2 separate regions of the Homo sapiens genome follow, and region 1 is linked to region 2. Evidence: promoter capture Hi-C in 16 types of primary human blood cells and fetal thymus (Javierre and others, 2016). All regions are on one chromosome and are shown on one strand. The core of a region is centred on a gene start or on the middle of the fragment in contact, and the rest is flanking DNA. Distances in the headings are between cores, read along the strand shown.

What was found. The method cuts DNA at HindIII sites, captures the fragments that hold promoters and counts their contacts. A CHiCAGO score of 5 or more calls a contact.
Region 1: a fragment that was not itself captured here is called in contact with the fragment with the promoter of ZDHHC2 in region 2 in 4 of 17 cell types (M1 macrophages, M0 macrophages, monocytes and 1 more); the score reaches 6.2 in M1 macrophages.

The regions. Positions count from the first base shown.
Region 1 is chr8:16,162,877-16,167,736 of GRCh38, reverse strand. MSR1 (macrophage scavenger receptor 1) reads left to right here. Exons shown (of 10, transcript NM_138715.3): 5 at 3,486-3,672. Among named protein-coding and RNA genes, the nearest start is that of MSR1, 27 kb to the left of the region's middle. The HindIII fragment of the contact is 1,971 bases long and covers 2,026-3,996 here.
Region 2 is chr8:17,153,346-17,157,731 of GRCh38, reverse strand. ZDHHC2 (zDHHC palmitoyltransferase 2) reads right to left here and starts at 1,250. Exons shown (of 13, transcript NM_016353.5): 1 at 879-1,250. The coding sequence starts at 1,008. RefSeq lists a silencer at 432-1,791. The HindIII fragment of the contact is 4,757 bases long and covers 1-4,386 here.

The DNA of each region.
Region 1 (4,860 bases), core at 1,762-4,261, 990 kb after region 2:
GTTGAGGGGAAAGAAGAATGGAGAAGAAATACTATTTATGTAGAAATAGGGTCAGAAGAGCACTGAGATGAGGTAAGGACAGAGGGAAGGTGGATGAGATGGAAGAAGAAGGATACATTTGATTCTGGCAGTGCATTAAATCCTGCAGAGACCATGGAATGTTTTTGTTTGTTTGTTTGTTTGTTTGTTTTTGAGATGGAGTCTCACTCTGTTGCCCAGGCTGGAGTGCAATGGTGAGATCATGGCTCACTGCAACCTCTGCCTCCCAGGTTCAAGTGATTCTCGTGCCTTAGCCTCCCATGTAGCTGGGATCAAAGGTACGTGCTACCTCACCCGGCTAATTTCTGTATTTTTAGTGGAGACAGAGTTTGCACCATGTTGGCCAGGCTGATCTCGAACTCCTGGCCTCAGGTGATCTGCCCGTCTTGGCCTCCCAAGGTGCTGGGATTACAGGCATGAACCACTGCGCCTGGCTGACCATCGAATGCTTTTGAACCCAAACATGAGGAATTGAAAGCAAATTGGAAACTATCTGGAAGGTGGTAGAAATTTTGAACCTGTTTGAAGTGATAATTAATGGAAACGATCAAAATCTGGTGATCAGTGAGCTGTTTGAGTTTCGATAGATTACACTTAAATTTTGGAGGGAATTCCAGCATTAGAAAAGGAAATGCAAGGGAATGGTGAAAGTTTGAAAGCTATATACATCTTTAAAAACAGTAGTCACTCACAGAGACTTAGAAACTAGGTCAGTGCCAGTGCGTGCATGTGTGTGTGTGTGTGTGTGTGTGTGTGTGTGTACTCCTGTGTACACTGAAAAACAACATTGGGACGCTCATCCCCATTGCTTGAATAATTTTATTGACCTTTGAATCTTTAGCTCAATGTAGGAATAAATAAATTAAATGAATGCCTGAATTTGTAAATGGCGTTTGAGGAAATAGGTTATAAGTGACACCAGCATAACACTTATCAAGGACACACCAAAAATTAATTTGAAAGAAAGAGGAAGAACATTGGCACCAAATGAAAGACAGGGGTGGCATTTATCATCATCCATAGAGGTGAAAAGGACTGTACGACTACAAAATTAAATGCCTGTTTCTAGGAGGGTCACTGGTGGTAGCATGTGGAGGGAGTGTGTGGATGCTATATAGGATTTTTTGAAATTAAATACACTTTTCCTCCTCCCAGTGAAAATAATTTCCACTGAAATTTGACAAATGTAAACACCATGTGCAGTTTTCAAAGAAGGGAATAATAAGGCAGCCTCAGCTGCCAGGCGCAGTGCCTCACACCTGTAATCCCAGCACTTTGGGAGGCCGAGGTGGGTGGACCACGAGGTCAGGAGTTCGAGACCAGTCTGGCCAACATAGTGAAACCCCATCTCTACAAAATTAAAAAAAAAAAAATTAGTCAGGTGTGGTAGTGTGCACCTGTAATCCCAGCTACTCGGGAGAACCACTTGAACCCAGGAGGTGGAGGTTGCAGGGAGCCGAGATCATGCCATTGCACTCCAGCCTGGGTGACAGTGCGAGACTCCGTCTCAAAAAAAAAAAAAAAAAAAAAAAAGAAAGAAAAAGTAGCCTCAGCTTTTAGGTATGATGAAAAACCTGGATGATTCCTCGTTTCTAGGAAGCAAAATCACTGTCTAGTCACTTAACACTTTATGCTGAATGTCTGGAACTACCCGACATACTTGCAGCAATTTTTAGCCCCCTAAATTAAGTCAAGTGTATTTATCATGGCGGTGTGCCCTACAAACATCCATGCTCACTATTTCACCTTTATTGTAATGATGGTATTGTACAGAAAATATTAAATGGTCAGGGGAGGAGGAGGTGCAAGATAGAGAAATTCTAATCTAGAATAAGGTTTTGTTTGGGAGAAGGCACAGTTAGAGCAATAAAAGCTGGTAAGTCTCTCTGCTTCAGTATAGTGTCATTGAAGAGGCAAATCTAGACGCACATTCATTTATTTTCGAAGGTCCTACACTCTGACCATCTTGATCCTCTCACCTAAGCTTGTCTAGTCTAGTCCAGCTCAAGAGAGTGTAATATTCTTTTTACTTCTGGATTAAAGAAAAACATACCACTGGCTTATTTCCCCATGTGCAAATCGGAAATGAGTATCTATCAACTTTAGAACATAGGAGTACTTAATACAATAATAAAGCATACAATGAAGACAGAAAATGGGATAAAAGTAGAACAGAGAGACAAAAATTATTACCAGAATAGATGAGAACATTTGGTTCATCAAAAATAAAAAGCCCAATGCTGAAAGAGAAAACCAAGCAAATGATCTAAAAGAAAAATTAATAAACATTAATCGTCAGAAATTTAATGACTGGATACTTTAACCTCACTATAATTTGAAAAACAAGTTAAGTAATAATGATTTGCTATGTACCTACTCTTACTATGCAAACTTAAATATATTAATGGTACCCAGTATTCAGCTGCAAAAAGTGGACGCTGATACGCAGTAAGAGGAAGAAAAATGGTAGCATATATTTGGAGAGTAGTACGGCAATGGTTGAACAAAAATGCTGTTTAATGTTTAGTCCCTTTGGTCAAATCCACTTCAGGAAGATGTTCTATAGAAGTACTTATATCAATATACAAATATATTTAAAATGATGTTCATGGCAGCATTGTTTAGTTGTAGAAAAGTGCACAGCTCAAAACACTATGAATAGGAATCCTAAATAAATTTTGAGAAATAGATTCAATTCCACTAAATTACTGAAAATATCAGTCTCTAAAGTATTTTAATAGATAAATATCCTTAATATATTATTGAGTAAAATATAAAAGCATATTCCAGGATATAGGTAGATCCTCTGTCTTTTTCACACTCTTAAGTATATGAATGTGTATGTATAAATATACACAAAATATACGTGTATTTGAAAACACAAAATACTAATGCCTCAAATACAGAGGCAATGCAAACTGAAAGTAAAGCACTGTTAATATGCGAGTTCGAGGTTTTATTGAGTATGAAAATCTATTGTCAATGATCATCACCACTGAGGATTATGACATTAAACTTCACTTATTACTATAAAACAATTTCCAATATAAATCTATCAAATTCACGAAATTTGACTATGTTGCCACTGTAAGTACAGTACGAAGACATTTTACTTCAGATAAATTAAGACCTTATGGTGTTTATTTAATTTTATTGTTAGAATTTTGACATCTATATATATAGGAATAGAAACATATCATAGATACATTAAATTGATTTTTGAAGGGGGTTGTGATTGTAAACATTCAGCCATTCAGTCAAAAGAGGAAATGTTTCACAATTAAAGAATTACTACTTTCAAAACAGTTTTCTAATTTCTATATTCTTATTCCATAAAACTCCCATAATATGTTTTTAAAAACCTGAACTCCGAGGGTTTCTTGAACTTTCATATTTGATAATTATGTATGTAACAAAGGCTGTGAATGCTCACTTATGTTTTACAGGAAATCAGTAAATTAGAGGAGCGTGTTTACAATGTATCAGCAGAAATTATGGCTATGAAAGAAGAACAAGTGCATTTGGAACAGGAAATAAAAGGAGAAGTGAAAGTACTGAATAACATCACTAATGATCTCAGACTGAAAGATTGGGAACATTCTCAGACCTTGAGAAATATCACTTTAATTCAAGGTAAAATGTCTTGTCATTTCTCCAGAAAATGATATATATATTAAAATATACTGATACATGCAGAGATTTGATATTTGAAATCCTATGGTTTGAAATAAATAGTTTCTGAGCTTACATTTACTGCAAATACCCAAAGGAAAGAATATGAAAATCAGATAAAGACAGGGTACGATAACCAGTAGCCTGGTATCACTTAAATAGAAAGGGAAAAGCAAAATATATCTTAAGGTCTAATGATTTTCTCATTGTTAAAAACTACCTCATAAGTACTGAATACAAGTTTTTTGTAATTACAAGTTTCTTCACATGTTCACAAACCAAGCTTGTTAATATTGCTTTTCCAAAACTTCCAGTCTTTTTTATTTCTTACTTGACTGTATTATTAATTAAAAGGATCTTTTGAACTCTCCAAAATAATGATGGATTTGTCCATTTCTTCTGCAGTGCCTGTTAGTGAAATAAGGTGAATTGGATCTTACTTATATATATAAATAAAATATATGTATATATGCTTTCTTTATATATATAGGCTTTCAGTTTTAGCTTTACATTTTAGATATTTTAGTTTTAGCTTTACATTATAGATTTTTTCTATATTTTGATTTTTTGATTTCTATATTTTGATTTTGATTTTCTATATTTTGATTTCAACCATTTGCATGTATTTTTCTATATTTTGATTGCAACCTTTTGCCTGTTGGTATTCTTTGTTTTAGGTTAGTCTCTTGTAATGAATACTTACCTTTTCTTTTAAAAAAATATACAATCTGACCATCTCTTTGCACTGTATTTATTTCCACTATCTTATCATGTGCTCTGGTTTTTTCCAGTTTATTTTATGTTTCTTTTGCTTTGCTGTATTGCCACTTTTGGATTGATTAAGATTTTTCTCTTGCTGAATTTTTCTCTCTACCAAAATTACCAAACAGGTTTCAGAAACTTTGTAGTATATTTCTATTTCTTATTGATTGTTGACCTTAACATTTATCTTGAAGTCTAAAGTTGATCAGTATCTTAACATTCATCCTAAAATACACAAGGAACTGAAAGTGCTTTGATGATCCTCTTCCCTAGTTTCCTGCTAATATTTTAGTACAGTTTATTCTACTTTATTTTTTTTTAATCGAGAACTTAGTCAATATTATTTTTCTTTTTTTATACAGACAATCTTGTGGAGCCTTAATTAGG
Region 2 (4,386 bases), core at 1-2,500:
TTTTAACATCTTTTTCTGATAACCCAGATCAGTTTTCATAAAACCCCTGAAGGTAGAAACCAGCTTACATTAAGCGACATCATTGTACTCCCTACTTGTGCATAATAATCAACTTTTTAAAAAATTTTAATCTTCAGCATTAAAAGTATCCTACCCACCAATTCAGGAACCTCGAACTCGGACTGGAGCCACTTCGCTCTCTGGATGTAAAAACCTCAGACGATCACCTCTTTTTTTCTCTCCCTACTGTTCAAACACCTAAATTATGGTTTAGTGTGTTGCACATGTCCTCAAAAATACTTTCTAGTAGCTCACCTCCTCCACATCCTTTTAAACTAGAAAAGTGTCCAACTGGCAATCCTCAAATCATAAAGGCAGCAAAAACGCCCCTGAGCGCTGTCACAAATTTTTAACAAGTGCATTGACGCCAACCAGCAAGGGATCCAGCTCCGCCGCCAAGGCCAGCACCCCCGCGCGGGTCTGGCGCAGCTCGGGGCCGGGCCCAGCTCAGCCCTTCAGCCCCCGGCGCGCCTCGCCGGCCTCGGCCTCCCCTCTCCACAGCGGTCCCGGGGACCTTCCGCCCCTCTAGGGGGTGTGGCCGAGGCGGCGGCGGTGAGCGGAAGGCGGCGGGAGGCTCGGCGGCGAGTGCGGGGCGGAGGCGCCACCTTAACCCGAGAGTTGGGAGGGGAGGGCGAGGGGCGTGCGCGTGGAAGAAGCTGCCCCGAGGCTGCTTTTAGCGGCGGAGCCGGCGGGACGCGGCAGGTTGGCAGCGCCCGGGGCGCATCCGGGGGGCGAGAGCGGAGGAGCGGCTGAGCGTCCCGGGACAGTCGGGGTGGGCTGCGCTGCGCTGGGGGCGCCGCGGCGGGGGGCGCACTCACCTATGCACAGCTGGATGGCGTAGGCGTAGTAGGACCAGCCGAGCAGGAGGGTGATGAACACCACCGGGATCCAGTACAGCACCCGCCGGCACCGCCGCCTGGCGCTGCTGCCCGGGCCCGAGGGCGCCATCTTCCAGCCGCATCCACCTGCCCAGCTCCGCCGCCGCCCGCGGGCCTGGCTCCGGGGCGGGCTGGGCGGGCCCGGCACCCCTGGCTGGACGGGCTCCTGGGCGGCGGCGGGGTGCGCTGCGGCCACTGCCGCCGCCGTGGCGCTAACTCCCCATCCCGCAGCCCCGAGCCGGCGCGGCGGACTCCCGGCTCCTCAGCCCGGCGGAGGCGGAGGCGGCGGCTGCGAGCGGAGGCCGAGGAGGCGGAGGGGGGCGGTGAGGCGGCGGCGTCGGGAGGCTGCGCTCCGCCCCCGCCGTTCCCCGCCGCCCGGCCGCCTCCCCTGGCGTGGCAGGCTGCGCCCTCGGGCGGGCTCTGCGGGGATGCGGGGCCCTCGCTCGGGCCACCTCGCGGGCTCCCACCGTGGCCCCGCCGCCTCCGGCTCGGCCTCTGGATTCCGGGGAGGCGGGGGCTGCTGGGCGCAGGCCCCCGGGGCGGAGCGGGCGGTGGCGGCCCCTCCCTAGGCGCCCGGCACCCGGGGCAGTTAGGTCGCGAGCGCTTCCGCGCTTGGCGCAGGGCGGGGGTCGGAGGCGAGGCCGGCGGAGCAGCTGCTGCGCTCGGGACTCCGCGCCTGCCGCGACCCAGGCGCCCTGAGAAAGTCTGCAGCACCGAGGCCCGCGTCCCCGCAGCCCGCGTGGAACCCTCGCGCTTCAACTTGCGGGTCCCTGGGAGCCCGCGGGGGCCGCAAGGAGCCTCCCTTTACTACTCGGGCTTTCGGGGGAAGCAGAAATGCACAGCGAAGAGGGGGTGCCGAGCCGGCGTCTGGCATGGGAGGGGCTGTGGAGAGCGAGGAAGAAGCATTTTTGGCTGTGAATCCAGGCACCTCTGGAGTTAGAAACACAAGTTCTTTGCTCTGAGAATGTTGATGCTTTGGATAAATGATTGTGACAGGGGCCGTTCCCACTGTCCCCTCCCTCAAGTACGGTGGTTCCTTCCACCAACTATTTATTCTTTTCCTCAACCCGCTCCTCACTACGGTGTTTACTTTCGTGGTGGCAATTCCAAACTTAGCAGATAGCTGACTCCAAAGCGGTTCCCAAAAAACACCGTAAGGGAACCTAAAGGTAGTCAGCCCAAACCTCTGATTTTATGATTCACGAAATGGAAAATAAACAAATGCCTCCTTTGCTTTTCCTTCATCTGATTATGAACGCACCTGATCCACAGGGAAACATTTCAATCAATGAGTGTGTGTAAATTATGTGCATCACTACTATACATAATAGGCACAATTTTTCTTAACATTAGTGAATATGTGTATTTACACCACACAGCAACCACAGTGAATGAAATTACTTCTTATTCATGTGTAGAAGTAAAAAAAAAATACTGATTTACATGAATTCAGTCAAAGAAATTTAGCTCTGGTGTCTGCGATTATCTTTCTGTGACTGGATTACACAACAAGCTAATCTCTCCCGAAATAGCTACTATGTTACAGCCCCCCACCCCACATCTCTTTCCATTTCTCTTCAAAAATGCATAGAAAATGTCAGTCAAGTTTCTGTGGGACTTTAAATAATTGAAAAGAGAGACATATTATGTCCCAGTGAATCACTTGATTTTGCTGTAGCCTTTTATATTCTCTGTGGATATTCTGTATATTAATGTAAAAATAAAACTTCTCTGGATTCCTTAATGTTTTCCATGAATATTAATCCTGTGTTCCCCCCCAATCAGAAGAGAGTAAAAAACAGGAATTAAAACTTCCTCCTGGGACTGAAATACCCTCACAAAGAGAAGCAAATCAGTGACTGAAGGTCAATAGAGACCATCAAGGTATGAAAAGGAAGGAATCGGATTTTCCATACTGGAAACGGTGGAGAAAGTGCAAATAGTGCCTCTGTAGATCCTGGATGCGACGATGCCCTGTGCTCTTCCTCCTCTCACAGTCCTACAGGGTCTTGAAATCGGAAATGGAATAGCATTCTGCCCAGTTTTCACATCATCTACCCTTTTGGAAAAGTATGCAGGTGTCATATCTTTGAAGGAGCTACATTTTTATTACTCATCTAAGATGTTGTTTAATTGTTCCTATTTATAATAAATATTTGTGAAATATTTTCAACTTTTTTTTGTTATTGCCATTTTAAGGATACTACTATTACTGGGTTTTTCAAGTTCTCTTATCTTAAATACAGAAAAAGTCTGGATTAGGAAGAAGCATCTCCACAGCCACAAGATAACAGGATTGATCTCTGCGTAGTCTCTAATTAGGCATAAGCAGCACGCACAAATGTAAGCTCTTTGGTGAGTAGCCAATCTCTAGATACTAGTCTTTGATGAGAGTGGAAGGAGAGCTTTTATTTTGAGGTATAGAGAGCCTTTGATTTATTTTCTTTTTCTTTAGGACTACATAAACAGAAAAAATAATTTGAAGGTCATAGACAAGAAGAAACTTCACTAGAGACTTACTGTTTAGAAATACAGAAGATTCAACTCACGAATTTTAATTTAAATGTTCAATAAGCATAAGAAATTGTAGGTTTCATGTATAACTGTGATTAAACTGATATGACCACTTATGAAAAAGAAAGCCAGCCACAGCAAAGGAGGAAGAAGGCGACGCTAAGGAAGAGAAGAGACGAGCGGACAGCCAGGCAAGGAGGGGGGTGAGGGGAGTGACTGAGAACGGGAGAAAAGCCCCCTTGCTGGGTTCATCCAGTCCCTAATGACCATGACTCCATCCTCGCTAGGCCTCTGCCTGTATGCTCCTTGCACTCAGCGGTCTAGCAACATCATTCACCTCTCAAATTTTCACAACTCTTATTTTCAGTTCCTGCCCCATGAAGGAATCTCTCTTTTTTTGGGGGGGGGGGGCGGACAGAATTTCGCACTGTTGCCTGGGCTGGAGTGCAATGCCGCCATCTCGGCTCACTGCAACCTCCGCCTCCCGGGTTCAAGCGATTCTCCTGCCTCAGCTTCCCGAGTAGCTGGGATTACAGGTGCCCGCCACCGTGCCCGGCCAATTTTTTGTATTTGTAGTAGAGACAGGGTTTCAGTATGTTGGCCGAACTGGTCTCAAACTCCTGACCTGGTGATCCGCCCGCCTCGGTCTCCGGAAGTGTTGGAATTACAGGTGTGAGCCACCGTGCCCAGCCCAGGAACCTTAAACGTTCCTCCTCTCCCTCCAGCCCAGTCCCCCAAATTCTTGAGTTCCCAAACCTCAAGTCTGCCGTACTTTCATGATTAATACTGCTAATCTTCCTTCTGCCTGCAGATCCAGATTACCATTTTAACATAGTCCCTTGCATAGTATGAATCAAACATAGCATGCTAGCCAAACCCAGGAAGGCGTGGACGCACCTGCTGCTAGAGAACACAGATCCCCCTTAATGTTGCC